5 separate regions of the Homo sapiens genome follow, and regions 1, 2, 3 and 4 are each linked to region 5. The links are contacts of gene promoters, found by promoter capture Hi-C in human tissues and cell types (Jung and others, 2019). All regions are on one chromosome and are shown on one strand. Each heading gives the region's core, a stretch centred on a gene start or on the middle of the fragment in contact. The rest is flanking DNA. Distances are from core to core; before and after follow the strand shown. Region 1 overlaps PITPNM2 (phosphatidylinositol transfer protein membrane associated 2). Region 2 holds the start of CCDC62 (coiled-coil domain containing 62). Region 3 overlaps PITPNM2 (phosphatidylinositol transfer protein membrane associated 2). Region 4 overlaps PITPNM2 (phosphatidylinositol transfer protein membrane associated 2). Region 5 holds the start of DDX55 (DEAD-box helicase 55).

What was found. The method cuts DNA at HindIII sites, captures the fragments that hold promoters and counts their contacts. A contact is called where the count stands out against the background at its distance.
Region 1: a contact is called between a fragment that was not itself captured here and the fragment with the promoter of DDX55 in region 5, in 2 of the 25 tissues and cell types used here (dorsolateral prefrontal cortex and lymphoblastoid cells).
Region 2: a contact is called between the fragment with the promoter of CCDC62 here and the fragment with the promoter of DDX55 in region 5, in 1 of the 25 tissues and cell types used here (hippocampus).
Region 3: a fragment that was not itself captured here is called in contact with the fragment with the promoter of DDX55 in region 5 in 1 of the 25 tissues and cell types used here (lymphoblastoid cells).
Region 4: a fragment that was not itself captured here is called in contact with the fragment with the promoter of DDX55 in region 5 in 2 of the 25 tissues and cell types used here (bladder and dorsolateral prefrontal cortex).

The regions. Positions count from the first base shown.
Region 1 is chr12:123,060,202-123,062,901 of GRCh38, reverse strand. The region is part of intron 2 of PITPNM2 (phosphatidylinositol transfer protein membrane associated 2); the gene reads left to right. Among named protein-coding and RNA genes, the nearest start is that of PITPNM2-AS1, 20 kb to the left of the region's middle. The HindIII fragment of the contact is 7,256 bases long and covers 1-2,700 here.
Region 2 is chr12:122,773,251-122,775,950 of GRCh38, reverse strand. It overlaps CCDC62 (coiled-coil domain containing 62), which reads right to left and starts at 1,379. Exons shown (of 13, transcript NM_201435.5): 1 at 1,245-1,379. The coding sequence starts at 1,280. RefSeq lists silencers at 515-809, 1,332-1,541 and enhancers at 1,012-1,151, 539-1,232. The HindIII fragment of the contact is 10,219 bases long and covers 1-2,700 here.
Region 3 is chr12:122,991,111-122,993,810 of GRCh38, reverse strand. It overlaps PITPNM2 (phosphatidylinositol transfer protein membrane associated 2), which reads left to right. Exons shown (of 26, transcript NM_020845.3): 16 at 1,142-1,312. Among named protein-coding and RNA genes, the nearest start is that of ARL6IP4, 12 kb to the right of the region's middle. The HindIII fragment of the contact is 5,083 bases long and covers 1-2,700 here.
Region 4 is chr12:123,037,126-123,039,825 of GRCh38, reverse strand. The region is part of intron 2 of PITPNM2 (phosphatidylinositol transfer protein membrane associated 2); the gene reads left to right. Among named protein-coding and RNA genes, the nearest start is that of MIR4304, 28 kb to the right of the region's middle. The HindIII fragment of the contact is 3,834 bases long and covers 1-2,700 here.
Region 5 is chr12:123,600,811-123,603,510 of GRCh38, reverse strand. DDX55 (DEAD-box helicase 55) reads right to left here and starts at 1,412. Exons shown (of 14, transcript NM_020936.3): 1 at 1,255-1,412. The coding sequence starts at 1,362. RefSeq lists an enhancer at 651-700 and a silencer at 941-1,050. The HindIII fragment of the contact is 15,410 bases long and covers 1-2,700 here.

The DNA of each region.
Region 1 (2,700 bases), core at 140-2,639, 540 kb after region 5:
CTGTCCTGCATTGGTAGTGGGGTGAAGCAGGGGTGATATGCAGTTGGTTCACACAGATATGTGGTGAAAACATTGATGTGCAGATCCACAATTCCTTATCCTCAATTCCAAAATCCAGCACACTGAAAACCAGACACTTTTTTGTAACTCATTTGGCAGCAAAATTTTTCCTGAACTGAGGTGAGGCTATTTATAGTCCAAGTGAGGCTATTTATAGTCTTTATGTATTCTATATTCATGTCTTTCACTGCAGAGAGTTCAATGTATTTGTTTATTGGATGCTGCTGAGATATGCAGCTTTACCTGTCTAAAGTTCAGGATATTCTGAAATCCTAGATACATCTAGCCCCAAGAGCAAGAGTGCTGTACTTTTTTTTGCTGGTAAATAGCCTCTGCCCCTGCCCCGTCCCCCTTATTGTCCCTTCCCTGGGATTTCTGGAGCTAAGTGGGCAATGCTGTCCACAGGCACCTCCAGGATTCCCCCAGCCCCACAGCCAGCAGCAGTGCCCAGGGGTTAGATATTTTTAGTATTCCTGTGGGTGACAGAACACATCTTGGTTGCCAGGCATAGTGTTCTACCCCCTCACTGGACGTATTACCACCTCCCTTTACAGATGAGTAAACCAAGGCTCAGTTGCAAGTATCAGATCTAAGGACGGAGAGATGAGAAGTGCAGGCGCTGGACCCCAAACTTTCCCTTCCACCTGGCTGCCTGTCTGGGAGGGAGTCTGGGGACTCAGGAACCTGTCTCCCTGGATTTGTTGAAATGGGAAGCAGCAAGCATCAGGGTCCCAGGTGCACCGGAGGGGAGCAGACAGATGCAAGCCAGGCTGCTCTACTTGGCAGGGAGAAGGAGGAGGAGGAGCAGGGGCCCCTCAGTTGCTGCAGGGCCTCCCTAGGAACTTACCGCCTACCTCTACACCGTAGTTCCTGCTTCTCAGAGTCCCTTTGTTAGAACACCTGTGCCTTCCTCCGCACCCAACTCCATCTCTTCCCAGCAGCCAGCCCTCATAGCTGCTCCGGCTCTTGGGTCTTTCCTCCAGAACTCTCTGAAGCCACTGGCACATAGGGAGATGGCATAACTTTGTCCAAACTCTGTCGGCAGCTGTTCTTGGGGACCCTGCTAGCAGCCACCTTCTCCTACAACCTTCAGAAGCTCCCTTGGATGCAGGAGCTTTGTCAGGGCCTGAAAGCCCCAGGCTTCCCCCTTTTTCTGACTCCCCAGTGTACAAGTTCTTTCCCATTTCCTGTGAGACGCATCATCTTGTGATGACCAATGACTCCCACCATCCACCACATTGACCCTGGCTCAGAAGCCTTTGGTCTGAGAAGCTTCTTGCCCACTGGGACGCCTCCTATCCACCCTGCCCAAGCCATGCCTGACGTGCCATAGTGCAGTGAGAGGGCCTACTCTTGGACAGTGGAGAGATCTGGGACAGGGTTATGGCTGTAGTGGTTAACCATCCTTGGATTGTAGGCACGTCAGCAGACCTCTCCAGAGCTTGTTTCCTGTTTCCTCATCTGCAGAGTGGGCTTAGGGTTGGCTGCCCTCACAGAGCTGTTGATGAGGATTGGCCTTAGGGCAGGCATCCTGCATAGACCGTGCCTTGTCATGAGCCCTGTTACCCTTCCCCCATTCCACTAGCAGGGTCTTTCTTCCTGTATACCCATTAAGGGGTCAGAAAGTTTCCCAGAGCTGCCGTGAGTGTAAAGAAGTCAACTGTGACCCGTTGTGAAGACCTTTGGGTTTAGAGGCAGAGGCTCTGGGCTCTAGTCCCACCCCTGCCCTATGTAGATGATGGATGGATGCATGGGTGGATGGATGCATGGGTGGATGAATGCATGGGTGGATGGATCAGTGGATGCATGCATGAGTGAATGGCGCGGTAGCTACATGGGTAGATGGATAGGTGGATGCATGGGTGAAGGGATGCATGGGTAGATGCGAGTAGGGATGCATAGGTGGAAGGATGAGTAGATCAACTGTCTGCCCTTTTCTGGGCCTTAATTTTTCCATCTACCCAATGATAGGGTTGGATTGCAAGTTCTTCAGTTTCTGAGGTTTGTGACCCCACCTATGTCAACCTGGCACCCTTAAGGACTGCTGCCCCCTTAGGTGGTGACCTATAAGGAGGACCGTGCCTATACCCAGGGACCCTGGAACCCTCTCTGAGCTCCACCTTCCACCCTGCCTTGGGCCTTCCCAGCTCTGACTTGGTACCCTCCTTGCAGCCTCTGCGCTCCTCATCCCTTTCCAATAGGAGTGCAGTTTTCTTCTGGCTCTTTTGTTGACAGAATCGCTTGTTTATTTGTGGTGGGAGAGTCTGTATATCCTGTGTGCAGTCACTTCCCTCCAGGCCACTCTGCATTCATGCAGGATGAGCTGCTGAGTGAGCATTGGGTGGAAGTGTCAGGCGCTGGGGGCTTGGCAGAGGGACTGTCACAGGGTCAGGGTGGCTTTACTGCCAAGGTGGCTCTTGAGTTAGGTCAGGAGCTAGGTCAACTTAGTAGGTCAGAATTTCCCGGTGGAGGTGGAGACCCAGGTGATGGCACCCAGACGGGCTGGGTCCTCACGGGTGAGGGTGTCAGTTCACCAGCCTGTGCAAAGACTTCCAGTGCCAAGGCAAGGAGCTCAGGGTGCTTTGGTGAATGAAGGTGAATTCTTGAAGGGTTTTAACCAGGAGGTGACCCAGTCAAGTT
Region 2 (2,700 bases), core at 130-2,629, 830 kb after region 5:
TTTGAAAAGTAAGATTTGTAAATAAACAAGAATAATGAGGTTGGGCTCAGTGGCTCACGCCTGTAATCCCAGCACTTTGGAAGGCCGAGGTGGGCAGATCACCTGAGGTCGGGAGTTCGAGACCAGCCTGGCCAACATGGCGAAACCCTGTCTCTACTAAAAACACAAAAATTAGCTCGGCATGGTGGTGGGAGCCTGTAGTCCCAGCTATTTGGGAGGCTGAGGCGGGAGGATTGCTTGAACTCGGGAAGCAGAGGCTGCAGTAAGCCGACATTGCGTCACTGTACTCCAGCCCTGGGGACAGAGCCAGACCCTGTCTCAAAAATAAATAAATAAGAATGATGAATAAATTACAGTTGCTAGTCTTAACAAGGAAAATGGAATTTGGAGTCAAGGGATTTCAAGTCCCAAGGCTTGAATTCCAGTGTTGGGTTAGCCCTTCATTCATGCACTCAACAAATAATTTATTGAGCGCCAGTGGCTGGGCCACAGACCTCCAGGCAAGGAGCACATATTCCACTCCAGGAAAACAGGCAGTAAGCCGAGTACACAAAGGCAGGTCGTCTTACACTGATGGACGCGAACCTTGGGCAAGCCCACTTCCAGACTTTTTGGTACAGTGGAGTTGTGAGAGCTCCTTCCTCTACTCGCCAGGTTGTGTAAATTAAGGACACCCTGAGAGGTAAATGGGAAAGCAGCTCCCCAGACGCCAATCGTCCTCCTTAAACAGTAAGCACCGGGTACGCGCTACTCTGTGGCCCGGGCTGAATAACAAGGTGTTATTGGGTTAAGGAAACGGTCGTGACGCCGTTTTCCTCTAGTGTATTGTTTCACTTTTTTTTTTTTTTTTTTTTTTTGAGACGGAGTCTCGCTCTGTCGCCCAGGCTGGAGTGCAGTGGCGCGATCTCGGCTCACTGCAAGCTCTGCCTCCCGGGTTCACGCCATTCTCCTGCCTCAGCCTCCCGAGTAGCTGGGATTACAGGCGCCCGCCGCCACGCCCGGCTAATTTTTTTTTTTTTATTTTTAGTAGAGACGGGGTTTCACTGTGTTAGCCAGGATGGTCTCGATCTCCTGACCTCGTGATCCGCCCGCCTCCGCCTCCCAAAGCGCTGGGATTACAGGCGTGAGCCACCGCGCCCGGCCTGTTTCACATTTTAAGTAGACACCGTTCTTGAGAAGCAATAGATTTCGACCAATGTGCACCGTTCCCGCGGCGCCCCGCCGCGCCCGGAACCGCTGCTTACCTGGCGCCCGGCAAGGAAGGCTGCCGGAGGGTTCATAGGTGTTTCCTCCGCCCCCGGAGAAGCCCGGTGTGGGCGGCGTCACCTCAGAAACGCCATCGGCGCGCCTGCCCCGAGCGGCGGGGGCGAGCCCGGAGCCCCGGGGCCCCGCGCCCTCGGCCGACCCCCGCCCCGTACTCCAACCGCCTGCCTGGTGCCCACGCGGCGTGCGCCCGCCGGGGCTCGGGGCTCCCCGCCAGGGTTTCCGGGCCGCAGCCCCGCTGCGCTGGTGGGCACTGTTCTTCTGCCTCGGAAACTGGGGGCTCCCAAGTGGCTCAGGCTGCGTATGGACGCTTTTTGCCCACGCCCGAGGCTCCGGCGCTGGAAGGCCTGAAAGAACCGGCTGTTCACCACTACCCAGAGAATGAAGAAGTCAATAAAGGCTGCTGCGCCGCCCCCAGCACTCTGGTTTATGACATTTGAGTTGCTCACTTCCCTATCTTCCATCTTCCCCCTAATAACCGTGAGCTCGGCCGTGCTCGCTCCTGTGTAGCTGGCTCCCAGAACAGGACCTGACACTCGAATGCGTGGAGGCAGAGCCCAGCCCTCGGGGATAACAGTTGCGGGCTACCCTAGCACCTTTGATACTTTAAACCAAGAATCACAGATGAAGAGGGGGAAATTTACTCTTGGGAGCTCCTGAAAAGCAATGAGGAGAACCACGGTACTTTGTCATGACAAAATCTACGATATTCTGGGTTGAATCTAAGCTTTTTCACCTGTTCTTCCATAGTCACCTCTTCATCCCCCTTTCACTCTTCCTAAGATGTGGGAACGGGACTAGGAAAAAATAAGGCTTATCACACTTCAGCCCCGGCTGCCCATCCCTGAATGCTTAACCCATCAGACAGCAACACAATTACTAAATACGGTCGGTCTTACAGGGTTTCAACTTTACTTTTTGGTTGAATATGAAATGCCAAAACATGCCCTTGTGTTCAAAAAATACAATCTGAAAATGGAAAAACAAAATTAAGATTTCTTATTTTGAAGCTTTACTGATAGGCTCATGTTTGGGAGACCAAAGCAATGTCTTAGAATTTAAAATCAAGAAAGCTGGGCGCAGTGGCCTGTAACCCCAGCACTTTGGGAGGCCAATGTAGGAGGATCTGTTGCGTTCAGGAGTTTGAGACCAGCCTGAGCAACATGGTGACACCCACCTCTAAAAAACTTTTTTTTTTTTTTTTTTTGAGATGGAGTCTGGCTCTTGTTGCCTGAGCTGGAGTGCAATGGCACAATCTCGGCTCACTGCAAACTCTGCCTCTGGCCTCAAGCAAATCTCCTGCCTCAGCCTCCCGAGTAGCTGGGATTACAGGTGCCCGCCACCACGCCACCTTTGTTGTATTTTTAGTAGAGATGGGTTTCACTACCTTGGCCAGGCTGGTCGCGAACTCCTGACCTCAGTTGACCCACCCACTTC
Region 3 (2,700 bases), core at 136-2,635, 610 kb after region 5:
CACTGCCAGGAAGAGAAATGGGTAGCTTTAAGGGGACCCCAACAACCAAGGCAGCCCCATGGAGGGCATCCCTGTGCCCCAGCCACTGCAGGCTCTGAACAGCCCCACAGAGTCCCACACAGGTGCATGGAGACTTAGGGACAGTACCGTTGTGGTCCCATTATGTGTCATTGTGAAAAACCAGAACCAACTTAAATGTCCGTCTATGTGGAGGGGCTGGTTAAATAAATTCTGGCACAACCACACAGTGGAGTACCCGCCTCCACTGAAAAAGAGCAAGGAGAAACTAGACGTGCTGACATGAAAGACGCCAACATTTTTTGTGTTAAATGGGAGGAAAAGGCAAAGTTCAGAAGGCATAGCATATGTTCTGGTTTATGTCCCTCTAAAAGTGAGATACAGCACTAATAATTAACACAACCTTGCATTCACGTGATCTCCTTAACTCCATGACGTGGTTGGAACTGCTGCCCCATTTGACAGAAGGGGAAACATTTTCCGATACAGGCAGGGCAGGGCTGCCCTAGCCAGCACTCGGTGGTGCTCCCGCAAGATGAGCTGGAGCTTCGGGGGGATCTGGGGTGGAAGGGGTTTCCACCATGTGCCCTTCATCATATGCTCTTCTGTACTGCAAACCACCTTTTACCACAATCATTATAACTTTTGCAATGAAAAAAAATTAGAGGTCAGGCGTGGTGGCTCACGCCTGTAATCCCAGCACTTTGGGAGGCCCAGGTGGGAGGATCACTTGAGTCCAGGAGTTTGAGACCAGCCTGGATAACATAGTAAGACCCCATCTCTACAAAAAATAAAATAAAAAAGCCAGGTGTGGTGGTGCACACCTGTGGTCCCAGCTACTCAGGAGGCTGAGGGGGTAGGATCACTTGAGCCCAGGAGACGGAGGCTACAGTGAACCAAGATCGCACCACTGCCCTCCAGCCTGGGTGACAGAGCAAGACCCTGTCTCAAACAAACAAAAAAGTGACAATGACCCAAACAGGTCCCAAATTGATAGAGACACACCCCCCATCTTATCCCTAACTTTCAGCAGACAACCCAGTGCCCAGTTCCCAAATTTCCCACCCCCACCACTGCTCCTCAGGGCCAGCCCCAGCTCTGCAGCCAACACCCCCACCCCCAGTTTTCCAGCTGCGGCCGGCCTGCCAGCAAGTCTACAACCTCTTCCACCCCGCGGACCCGTCAGCTTCACGCCTGGAGCCGCTGCTGGAACGGCGCTTTCACGCCCTGCCGCCTTTCAGCGTCCCCCGCTACCAACGCTACCCGCTGGGGGATGGCTGCTCCACGCTGCTGGGTGAGAGGCACATTCCGCCCCACTCCTCTGGGGGAAGGTGGGGTAAGCGTGGCTCCCTGGCTCCTAGGTCCTCCATGCTACGTGGTTCTTCCCCAGGTGAGAGGGACAGCTTGTGCTGAATGCCTCTTGGAGGTGGACAGCTGTTGGGGGTGGGGGGTGGGGGTGGTGCATCCCTCCGCACTGATCCCTGTGAGGCACAAATGATAGTTCCCACCTTTCAGAGGACACAGGTCAGGGCCTTGTTCCAGGGTCCCCGGAGCAGGGAAAGGGCAGAACAAGACCAGACTCCCCTCTCCACAGCTGAGCCTCCATCCCAACAGAGACAGAGCTAAGGACCCAGCAGGGACCCTCACTTAGTAGGGGGCCTGGGTCGGCTGGGTCCCATCATGGCAGGCGGCTGGCCCCGAGATAGGGTGCAGGAGATGCGTTGGGGCAGGGGAGGTCCAGGTAGGCTTGGCCCGACCCCTGCCCCAGCGTGTGTCCCAGCGTCTTGTCACGTCCTGGTCCTCGAGGAGCCCTGAGTCTCTGTGTCAGAGCGTGTCTGGATGGCCCATGCAAGTGTCTGTTCTTGTCCTCTGTTCTCTCCCCGTCTGCCTCCAGTCGAGACCGTGCAGAGAAACCCTGAGCTGGTCCTGGAGGGCGGCCCCCTGGCCCCTCTCCCCCACGGGGACGGCTTCCTGGAAACCAGTATGCCTGTTCCCGCGCCCACCTGGCAAGACGGGCCCCGCCCGGGCTGTGCCGAGTGTGTGTACCCTCCCCTGCTCGTGGTGACGTCTGCTTCGTTGGTTGACCTGGTCCTCAGGGACACCCCCCAATCCATGCCCTCCTTGGCCACTCACAGTTCGTGGGACCTGGGTGGTGAGGAACAGAGACTTGGGCAGGACGGCTCTGGGGAGCTGATGTCGGTGCTTCCTCCCTGCATATTGTGGGCCAGAGGCAGGGCAGAGCCAAAGCAAAGGGGCGCAGCAGCTCAGAGACAGCAGAGGCCGTCTCAGGGCCACACAGCAAGTCAGCGACAGTTCCAGGGCTCTGCCAGAAGCAGACTGAGGCCTTGAGCCAGCCGGGCCCACCCCTCACCTGGGGAAGCTTCTGGTCCCAGCGAGGGGTTGGATTCCCCAAGGCCCACTCCTTCGCTTTCTGAGGTCACCCAGGCACCTCCTGTACCCCGTCCAGGTGTGGCTTGTCTGGCTGAGCCCCATCCTCCCTGTTCTGTCCTGTCTTCAGCCTGCGCCTGGGTGAGCCTGGCTTGAGCCCCCAGCACCTGCCTTTGTCCCCAAACGCCCATCAGGGGCTGCTGGCTGTGGCCTGTGTGAGGGATGCTCAGGGCTTGCCTCTCTCTGTGCTCTGCATGTGCAGGGCATCCCCAGGAAGCCACCCATGGCACCTGT
Region 4 (2,700 bases), core at 94-2,593, 560 kb after region 5:
ACAGCAAAATTGAGTGGCAAGTACGGAGTTCCCATATGCCCCTTCCCCCACTCTCAGCATCACACATCAATGTGCCCTGTTTGTTACAATGAATGAGCCTGCAGTGACATGGCATCGCCCTAAGTCCGTAGATTACACAAGGGCTCACTCTTGATGTTGTACTTTCTGTGGGTTTGGACAAATGTATGAGGACATGCATCCGCCATTGTAGTATCCCACAGAGTACTTTTACTGCCCTAAAAATCCTCCATTCTCTGCCTGTTCATCTCTCACTAATTTTTCTACCTACTTAATGAACCAACTTCTATGCTATGGAAGTTGAGGAAACGATATTTCTACCTTTGTTCTTCTCCAAATTTGTCTTAGTTGTATTATCATTTGTGTACAGTGTTGAGGTTTTGATAGTCAGTTCAATCACATAATTGCCATGATTTCAAAATATCAATGCCGTGTTCATCAGGATTTCTCCATTTATTACCTCATTTTGACTTATCTTTTTGGTTAGTTGGATTTCAACATCAGATAATTTTTTCTTTTTTTTTGAATTTTATGTATTTATTTATTTTTGAGACAGGGCCTTGCTCTGTGATTCAGGCTGGAGTGCAGTAGCGCAAACATGGCTCACTGCAGCCTTGACCTCCTGTGCTCAAGCCATCCTCTCACCTCATCTCCCCAGGATGCAGCCCGGCCGTGCCAGGGGTGCATGGTGGGAGGCCACTCGATGGAGCCCCATGTTCCTGCCCTGGGGCCTTTGCTCACGCTGTTCCTTCTTACTGGATTGAGTCCTTCTCACACCTACCCTCAGCTCTGCCCTTAGCCTCCCCAAGTGTCTGGATTACAGGTGTCTGCCGCCTTGCCCAGCTAATTTTTTTTAAGTGTATGATTTTTTGAAGAGACAGTATCTCACTGTATTGCCCAGGCTGGTCTTGAACTCCTGGGCTCAGGTAATCCTCCTGCCTTGGTTTCCCAAAGTGCTAGGATTATAGGTGTGAGCCACCGTGCCCGGCCAGGTAATTATTTTTTAGATGACTTTAAGGATGTCTAAGCCCCTAAACTCATGCTTCAGAGAGCCCCACCTCATCTCCCCAAGATGCAGCCTGGCCATGCCAGGGGCACATGGTGGGAAGCCACTCAATGGAGCCCCACGTTCCTGCCCTGGGGCCTTTGCTCACGCTGTTCCTTCTTACTGGATTGAGTACTTCTCACACCCGCCCTCAGCTCTGCCGAGCAGAATCCCATGGATCTCAGAGAGCCTGGCTCCGCCTTCCATGAAGCCTTTCCTGAGACCCCTCTGGACTGAGCAACTTATCTTGTTTTCATGACACTCATGGTAACTCCAGAAGTCAGATAGTATTATCCCCATTTTATATATGGAGAGACCGAGGCTCAGCAGATACAGGGGCTTTTCCAGGAGGTCACACAGCTGGTAAAGGCATTGTGAGGCTTTGCAGTCAGATCCCAGAGTGAGCTCCAAACTGTCACCTCCCGTCACATTCTGTGTCACTCTTAGAGTTCTGAGTCCTCTCTCCTATTAGTCACCCGTGCATTTAACTGTAAGATATAGAACGATTTATTTGTTTTTTCCTTCTTCCTATCCATGTATGTACCTACTTACTTACCTCTACAGCTCTTTAGTTCCTTGTGGGCAGAAACACGGTTGCTTTTCCCTAAGCCAGCCTTGATGGAATTGCATCCTGAGCACTTGCACTTTCTGATGCTCTTCCACCATGTGGCTGCTGCCCTTGCACGGTCCTAAGCTTTGCCCCACTCCACCCAGGTGCCAGGAGCCTCCAAGGGGCCTCTGGGCCCTCCAGGTGTGTGTTCCCTCTCTGTCTCTGTCCCTCTGCCTGCACGCAAAAATATCCCAGCGGAGCTGTGGACAGCACCTGTGCAATTAACAGCTCACCTGACAGCTTGTCCGTGGGGGAACATCATTAGGTATCTGTTCCAGACATGTGCTCACAGAGCCTTTGAAATCAGAGACCCAAGCCAGTGTCTGGGTGCTGGCTCAGGCTGCGAGATTTCACCCCTGGTTGTTATTTGAGGTGATGGAGACATTTAAGGAACATTATGAATCTGGCTCAGGGGGTCCTACCTTGCTAGTGCCTGGTGAGCCTGGAATCTGAGAGGATTGAGAAAGGACTGATTTGCATGGGGATGAGCAGGGCAGGTCATGTACGCTGGAGGGGTTAAGACTCCCAAAGGGCAGAATGCTTAGACTCGTAAGGTTTCTGAAGAACATTTAGAGTCTGTGTCTGACCATGTTATTTAGATGACTAAATGAGACTTGCCCACTCTGGGTCACTGCATTTGCCCCACAGTAAAGGAGCCCACCTGAGGCCCCACAGAGGCGGAGTGGGTGCTGCACGTCACACAGGTGTACTGCTTCACACCAAGCACCTGCTGTGCCTTCCTAGTTGGGCGATGCTGGGGCTTCAATGAAGAACCACGTGAAGAAGCTTCAGAAACAACCCCCATTGAACTTCAATTTTCCCTTCCCGTCTCCAACCCTAATTTCCTCCAACTTCCCTCAAACATAAAGCTCTCTCTCCTTTATGTATGTAAGTTTCTCAGATCAGGTGCCTGTGCTACCCTCCCAGCCAGCTGGAAGTCCATCCAGGTGTCAGACTTGGGTCCCTTGCTACTTCGGCCCAGCCAGCTCTTGTTTCACACCTCACAGGATAAGGTGCAGCCTGGGGA
Region 5 (2,700 bases), core at 163-2,662:
GTTCAGGCAGAGAATTGCTTGAACCCAGGAGGCGGAGGTTGCAGTGAGCCGAGATCGCGCCACTGCACTCCAGCCTGGGCAACAGAGCGAGACTCCATCTCAAAAAAAAAAAAAAAAAGAATAAAAACCTCAGGTCCTGTAGTCTTTTCTTTCCTAACCTCCACTTCCAGTCCCTTAGCAACCTTAAAGCTATCCCAAATGTGACTTCTCAGTATCCACTGGTTCCACCCTACTCCAAGTCACCATCATCTCTTACCTGACAATGGCCTCCTAAGCGACCTGCCTGCTTCATCTCTTATGCCTGGAAAGGCCACTCTCTACAGAGAAATCACAGCCCTTCCCTTCCTAAACATCCTCCCAGATAAGATGGCTTCCCACTACATTTAGAATGAAATCCAAGCGCCTACAAGACCCTGCACAATCCATCTCTTACACTACTCTTGATGTTCAGCCACAAAGGCCTCCTTTCTGCTGCTCAAACTATTTGCAGCCTGCCGCAGGGCATTTATGTGCACTGGTATTTCTCTCCAGTGGAATAATCTCCCCCTAGTCACCTCAGAGCCAGCTCCTTCTCAATCACTGAGGTCTCAGCTCAATGCACCTCCTCAGAGAGGCCTTCCTTAACACCCTATCTCACCTCCTCTGCAGTCCTCGCGCGACACTATCACAACCGTCTTAGTTCTTTCATAACACTTACCAGCAGCTGAAATTATCCTTTCTCTAGCTCTTGCACTAGAAAGTAAGGCTATGAGCAGATGCCAATACTGCAAACTCCCCAGAGCCTAGAAGAGTTCCTGACACATAGCAGGTCCTCAAGAAATATTCTTGAAGAGATGCATAACAACGGTAACCCTTACTGAGCTCCCATAGTGTGCCGACTGGTTTATTTAGTCCCCACAGCAACCCCATAAGGAGGGTGTTATTTTTTCGTCATTTCACAGAGAAGGAAAATGAAGCACGGAGAGGTTAAGCCATTTGCCCGAGGTCTCACAGCTACAGCGAGCAGGGCCAGGATGAGAACCAGGCTTGAGACCACAGCACCCGAGGGCGGGGTGGGTCGCGGCCCCTCTGCCGGCTCGCTGGCCGGGCAGCTCCGCATTCCGCCAGTCTGGGCAGCTGGAGACAAGGCAAGAGCCCCAGCTGGAGGGATGAGCGCCCCAGGGCTCAGATCTGTCCGATCACCTCCTGTGGGTCCGATGCAGCGGGTGCCTGCCCCTCTCCCAGCCTCACTCCCCCACGCCAGGGAACCGATACCTGCACCGGCGTCATGTACGGGAAGCCCAGCTCCCGCAGCGCGCCCAGCACCTGCGGGTGCAGCGGCACAGGCAGCGACTCCCAGGAGCCCTCTGTCACATGCTCCATGGCGCGCTCCTTCGCCGCGTCGGTCGCCGCTGCTCGAACGCGCCTTGTGCACCCCCAACGAGCACTTCCGCTTCCCGCAGCTCCAGCGGCCGGCCGGGAACTTCGCTGGAGCAGCAGAGTTCCGGAGCGCGGCGAAGGCTCCCACGCCGCGGGAGGGAGGAAAGGCGTCCGCGGGACGGTGGAGGCAGGCGGCGGGGCAGGCCTGGGGAGTTACACCCGCTCCGCACAGCGCCCTGGGCTCCGGGCGCCTCTCCGCACCGGGCAGGAGTTTTGGCGGGAGGGATTCTGGCCCGGCCCTCCCACTTTCTCTGCCCCTCGGAGGCAGGTGGCAGCACAGGACCGCGTCCAGGCCGAAGGACAGCGGGGCTGGCTACCGTGGGCAGAGAAACGTGTCGGGGACCCGGGTTAGCAGCCCTGCAAAACAGGCACCCGCTGATGGCCGGTACGTCCTGAATGTTGCGGTCCGATGGCCGGTACGTCCTGAATGTTGGTTTACTTTCCCGGAAGTTAGGGTCAGAGTCCTAACTAAGAACACTGTCCCATTCCTCTGTTCACTGTTTGCCTGGGCCATTCATGTCCACATACAACTTCACTCAGAAAGCTGTTTTTGTTGTTGTTGTTGTTGTTGTTGTTGTTTGAGACGGAGTCTCGCTCTGTTGCCCAGGCTGGAGGCTGGGCGCTATAACGGTTCACTGCAAGCTCCGCCTCCCGGGTTCACGCCCTTCTCCTGCCTCAGCCTCCCGAGTACCTGGGACTGCAGGCGCCCTCCACCACGCCCGGCTAATTTTTTGTATTTTTAGTAGAGACGGGGTTTCACCGTGTTAGCCAGGATGGTCTCGATTTCCTGACCTCGTGATCCGCCCGCCTCGGCCTCCCAAAGTGCTGGGATTACAGGCGTGAGCCACCGCGCCCGGCCTTCACTCAGCAAACTTTTATTGACCACTCATTATGTGCCCTCTATGAGGGCCTATCTCCTCCACCTATGTGCATGGCTTGCTCCTGTTGAGGCTCTGAAAACGAAACCCCAAAATGAAGGCCCCAGAGGCAGCCTCAGAAGCAAGTTTCTCTCTGACCTTCTGCTCCCTCTCTGATCTCTGATTCTCTGAGGCTAGCCATAGAAACTCAAGAATCCCTCTTGCCCATGACGGAGCATAGAAACAGGAATCCCTTTTCTCCACAGTCAGCCATAAAACCTAAAAATATTACTCTCTCTCCACCTTTCTGTGAAAAAACTGGCCATAAAGAAATTATTGGCCTGGCACGGTGGCTCACGCCTGTAATCTCACCACTTTGGGAGGCCAAAGCGGGCAGATCTCAAGGTCAGGAGTTCGAGACCAG